Linked DNA regions of Homo sapiens: region 2 is linked to region 1. Evidence: promoter capture Hi-C in human tissues and cell types (Jung and others, 2019). All regions are on one chromosome and are shown on one strand. The core of a region is centred on a gene start or on the middle of the fragment in contact, and the rest is flanking DNA. Distances in the headings are between cores, read along the strand shown. Region 1 holds the start of ANGPTL4 (angiopoietin like 4). Region 2 has its middle 5.4 kb from the start of PRAM1.

Region 1 (2,700 bases), core at 144-2,643:
GACGAGGTTTCACCATGTTGGCCAGGCTGATCTCGAACCCCTGACCTCAGGTGATCCGCCCCCCCCCCCCTCCCACCACCCGGCCTCCCAAAGTGCTGGGATTACAGGCGTGAGCCACCGCGCCTGGCCACAGACTTTTATTTTATTTCTTTTTTAGAGACAGGATCTCACTCTGTTGCCCAGGCTGGAGTGCAGTGGCACCATTGTGGCTCACTGCAGCCTCTACCTCCTGGGCTCAAGTGAGCCTCCCACCTCAGGCTCCCAAGTAGCTGCGACCACAGTCATGGGCGACCGCCCTGGTTCCTCCCTTCCTTGTGTCTCCTCTTTCTGTTCTCTAAGTTCCTGCTTTATTATAGGCAAAGCTCAGGACATTAAAGACCCTGGCGGTAGAGGGTAGGCTATGGGGGTGAGGCCCTGATCCAAGTCCTGCCGCTAAGGCACTCATAATTTCGGGCTCAGGGGAGAAATGGAAGTCAAAGAATCTCATAAACACAGCTGCGATGACGAACCCTTTCACGGGAAGGAACATGCGAGCCCAGAAAAGTCTCTCCTGGTCTTGGGATGGAGGTCACACGAAGCCTCCGCAAGGCAAGGACTTTTGGTGAGTTCCGGGCTCCGCTGAACTCAGCTCTTTTTCTTTTCCTTCCTTTCTTTCCTTCTTCCTTTCTTTCCCTCCTTCCTTCCTTCCTCTTTCTCTCTTTCCTTTCTCTCTCTCTTTTCTCTCTCTCTCTCCTTCTTCCCTCCCTCCCTACCTCTCTCTCTTTTCTTTTTCCGTCCTTCCTTCCTTCTTTCCTTCTTTCTCTCTCTTTTCTTTCTTTTCTTTTCTTTTCTCTTCTTTCATTTTGAGACGTACTCTGGCTCTGTCGCCCAGGCTGGAGCGCAATGGCGCCATCTCGGCGCACTGCAACCTCCACCTCCCGGGTTCAAGCGATTCTACTGCCTCAGCCTCCCGAGTAGCTGGGACTACAGGCGCGCACTACCAAGCCCGGCTAATTTTTTTTTGTATTTTTAGTAGAGACTGGGTTTCACGATGTTGGCCGGGCTGGTCTGGAAGTCTTGACCTCAAGCGTGCGCCCTCTCCGCCACTGGGTAAGGCGGGGGCGGAATAGGGGGCTTGCAATTTCACACTAGAGGCGGGCACCGTGGGGGAAAGAAGAGTCACGTCTCCCACGGTTCGTAGAGGAAGGCCTGCCTGAGCCTGGAGCGGGGGCGGGAGAGCCACAGTTTGGCATCCCCAGGGCATCCCCCAGCCCGCAGACTACCAGGCCTCCAGAGGACAGGACCCCACCCCCGGCCACAGGCCCTGCCCCCAGCACTCCCCGCACCCCGCCTCCAAGACTCCTCCGCCCACTCCGCACCCAACTTATAAAAACCGTCCTCGGGCGCGGCGGGGAGAAGCCGAGCTGAGCGGATCCTCACACGACTGTGATCCGATTCTTTCCAGCGGCTTCTGCAACCAAGCGGGTCTTACCCCCGGTCCTCCGCGTCTCCAGTCCTCGCACCTGGAACCCCAACGTCCCCGAGAGTCCCCGAATCCCCGCTCCCAGGCTACCTAAGAGGATGAGCGGTGCTCCGACGGCCGGGGCAGCCCTGATGCTCTGCGCCGCCACCGCCGTGCTACTGAGCGCTCAGGGCGGACCCGTGCAGTCCAAGTCGCCGCGCTTTGCGTCCTGGGACGAGATGAATGTCCTGGCGCACGGACTCCTGCAGCTCGGCCAGGGGCTGCGCGAACACGCGGAGCGCACCCGCAGTCAGCTGAGCGCGCTGGAGCGGCGCCTGAGCGCGTGCGGGTCCGCCTGTCAGGGAACCGAGGGGTCCACCGACCTCCCGTTAGCCCCTGAGAGCCGGGTGGACCCTGAGGTCCTTCACAGCCTGCAGGTACGTGTCCCCAGGGCTGGTTCTCCGCGCCCCTAGTGGCTCTCCTGGCTTGGAAGGGTATGGACAGGAGTGGGGCGTGGGGGCGGGGTGCGCAACTGTGGCTCCCTGGGCTTCCCTGCGTCAAGGGATGGGCTCCCCCCTTAGGAAGCCGAGGAGGGAGGTTCGCTCAAGGCCAGGAATTCAAGACCACCTAAAGCAAAATAGCGAGACCCCCGTCTCTTCTACACACACACACACACACACACAAAATAAATAAAATAAAATAAAATAAATATAAAATTAAAAAACGACCGGGCGCAGTGGCTCACGGAGCCTCCACCTGCTGTCGAGACTAGCCTGGCCAACATGGAGAAACCTCGTCTCTACTAAAAATACAAAAAATTAGCCTGGCATGGTGTGCATGCCTGTAATCCCAGCTACTTGGGAGGCTGAGGCAGGAGAATCTCTTGAACCCGGGAGGCAGAGGTTGCAGTGAGCCGAGATCGCAGCACTGCACTCCAGCCTGGGCAACAGAGTGAGACTCCTCAAAAAAATAATAGCGATAAAATAAAAATAAAGCCAGGTGCGGTGACTCACGCTTGTAGTCCCAGCACTTTGGGAGGGCGAGGCCAGTGGATCACCTGAGGTCAGGAGTTCAAGACCAGCCTGACCAACACAGTGAAACCCCGTCTCTACTAAAAATACAAAAATTAGCTGGGTGTGGTGGTGGGCGCCTGTAATCCCAGCTACTGGGGAGGCTGAGGCAGGAGAACCTCTTGAACCCGGGAGGCGGAGGTTGCAGTGAGCCGGGATCATGCCATTGCACTCCAGCCTGGGCGACAG
Region 2 (2,700 bases), core at 5-2,504, 140 kb after region 1:
CCCGGGACCCTGGAGAGGGGTTAGGGGCCTGGGGGACAGAGAACACAGCGCTGTCCCTGGAGATGGGGGAGAGGCTTGGACTACAGCCAGATCTAGGGACCTGCAGAATGCGGGAACAGGGGCGTGTCCTCTGGACCTGCTGGCAGGGTTTTCTCTTCTCGTGGTAACCGTGCGCAGCTCCCAAGATGGTGCAGAATCAGTGCCGCTGACTGGGAACTGGGGCTGGCTAGAGGCCTCCTAGCCTCACCTTCTCTATATATCTGTAAAATGGGCCCCTTCACCCTGTCCCACCCTCCTCCCCAGGTCGAGAGAGTCCCAGGCAGCCATGGGCTCGGGACGTGAAGTTCTCAGCAGACATTTCCCAAGCCCCTCCTCTCCCTGCAGCCTCTCTTTTCATCCTCGCGTCCACCCCAAAGGACTCACCAGTCATCATGACACCCTTTTAAGGACGAGGGAATTGGGAGGCAGGGAAGTCGACTCTTTTCCAGGGTCCCACAGTGGTGGTTTCAAGGCTTCTGGCTGAGAAGGGGGAGCTTAGGGGGCCTCCTGATGGCCTGTCCTACCCCATCCTGACAACCACCTCAGCTGGGGCCTACAGGTTCTGGGAGAGTGGACACCCAGCCCAAGCCACGTCAGCTGAGGCTGCTGCCCCGTCACATCACAGCCCCATCAAGGACAGAGCAGTCTTCAGGCCCCTGGTGAGGCGGTGGGCAGTGGGGCAGACAGACGGGTCCCAAGGGCCTGAGGATCCCCTCCTGCCCCTTGCAGTGGCTGAAGGGCTTCTGGAGCCCAGAGCTGTCCATCTTTGAGGTGACATGGCACTGAGCAGGTGTGGGGCAGGTGGCCCTTGGCTTGTCTACCTGGATGGCTTTGACTCAGAGCCTGAGGTGGACACGTTGGTGGATGAAAAGTCCAAGGAAGATAGGTGCGGTGGATCACGCCTGTAATCCCAGCACTTTGGGAGGCCGAGGCGGGCGGATCATGAGGTCAAGAGTTCGAGACCAGCCTCGCCAACATGCTGAAACCCCATCTCTACTAAAAATACAAAAAATTAGCCAGGCATGGTGGAGGGCACCTGTAATCCCAGCTACTTGGGAGGCTCAGGCAGGAGAATGGTGTGAACCTGGGAGGCGGAGGCTGCAGTGAGCTGAGATGGTGCCACTGCACTCCAGCCTGGGTGACAGTGCGAGACTCCATCTTCCAAAAAAAAAAAAAAAAAAAAAATCTGAGGAAGACAACAAGGAGGGTGGCGGGGGGCAAGGAGAAGGTGGGAGGGCAGTGACGGAGGAGTGGGGTCTGGGGGCCCCGCCCAGGGGTTACTGGTGTCTCGGCTGCAGATACCAGGATGAGGAGGTGAGGGGGAACCCCGAAGTGGATTCAGAGAATGGAGAAAGGAGGAGGAGGTAAGGATTGAGACAAGGTGGACTGCGTGAAGGAGGTCCCTGGGTTCTTGCTCACAGGATGTCTGTATATCCAGGAGGATGAGGGAGACAGTGAGTGTTGTTCTGGGAGGGGACCGAGAGGTTCAAGGTAGGGCCTTGTGGGCTACTGGGAGAACAGGATCTTCATCCAGAGGGCCATGGGAAGCCACTGAAGGGTGCCGGGCAGGAGAGGGGAACAATCAGAAGAGACCCTGGCAGGGCGTGGTGGCTCACACTTGTAATCCCAGTACTTTGGGAGGCCAAGGTGGGTCGATCACCTGAGGTCAGGAGTTCGAGACCAGCCTGACCAACATGTTGAAACCTCATCGCTACTAAAAATACAAAAAGTTAGCCGGGGTGGTGGCAGGCGCCTGTAATCCCAGCTACTTGGAGGCTGAGGCAGGAGAATCATGTGAACCCAGAAGGCGGAGGTTGCAGTGAGAGCTGAGAGTGTACCATTGCACTCCAGCCTGGCACTGCCATTGCACTCCGGCGAGACTCTGTCTCCAAAAAAAAAAAAATAAATAAAATAAAAAGAGGAAGAAGAGACTGTTTTCTGTTTTCAGTCTTGGGGTAAGGGCAGGTTGGGGAGAGTAGGGGGTGGGCTAGGGGACCCTGGGGCTGGCGAGATGAGGATAGAAGGGAGAGGGATCATGGAGGTAAAACCAGCTTCCAAGGGATGGCTGTGGATATCACCTGGGACTTCCATACCTGGGAGGCTGGCTTCAGGGGTGAGGAGAAAGACCAGGCCATGGAGGGCTGGCCTTGACCCACCCCACTCCTCAGAGCTGGGACATGGTGGAAATTGGTCTGGCAGACAGCAAGGAGGATGAAGACCTGAGTCCCCAGCCTGCCTCCCCAATCCCAAAGGATTCTTCCCCTTAAGTCAGTATGGGGTTCAGGGTCTGGGGGTCTTCAGGCCATCCTGGCCAGTCCCTGCACTTTCTCAGGACCAGCCTTCCAGCCTGTCCCCGAAGCTCCTGGGATTTTTTCTTTTTTTGTCTCCCAGGCTGGGGTTGCAATGGTGTGATGATGGCTCACTGCAGCCTTGAACTGCTGTGCTCGTGATCCTCCTGCCTCAGCCTCCCAGGTAGCCACCACGGCTATTTTTTTTTTTTTTTTTTTTTAAGACAGAGTTTCACTCTATCACCCAGGCTGGAGTGCAGGGTCTTGATCTCGGCTCACTGCAACCTCCATCCCACCGGGTTCAAGCGATTCTCCTGCCTCAGGCTCCCGAGTAGCTGGGATTATAGGTGCCCACCACCATGCCCGACTAATT

The links. Contacts are between HindIII fragments. The study calls those that stand out against the background at their distance.
Region 2: a contact is called between a fragment that was not itself captured here and the fragment with the promoter of ANGPTL4 in region 1, in 3 of the 25 tissues and cell types used here (dorsolateral prefrontal cortex, heart right ventricle and spleen).

Annotation. Positions count from the first base shown.
Region 1 is chr19:8,362,762-8,365,461 of GRCh38, forward strand. It overlaps ANGPTL4 (angiopoietin like 4), which reads left to right and starts at 1,394. Exons shown (of 7, transcript NM_139314.3): 1 at 1,394-1,878. The coding sequence starts at 1,561. RefSeq lists an enhancer at 1,011-1,060. The HindIII fragment of the contact is 14,542 bases long and covers 1-2,700 here.
Region 2 is chr19:8,506,681-8,509,380 of GRCh38, forward strand. No RefSeq gene overlaps it. Among named protein-coding and RNA genes, the nearest start is that of PRAM1, 5.4 kb to the left of the region's middle. RefSeq lists an enhancer at 1-251. The HindIII fragment of the contact is 8,917 bases long and covers 1-2,700 here.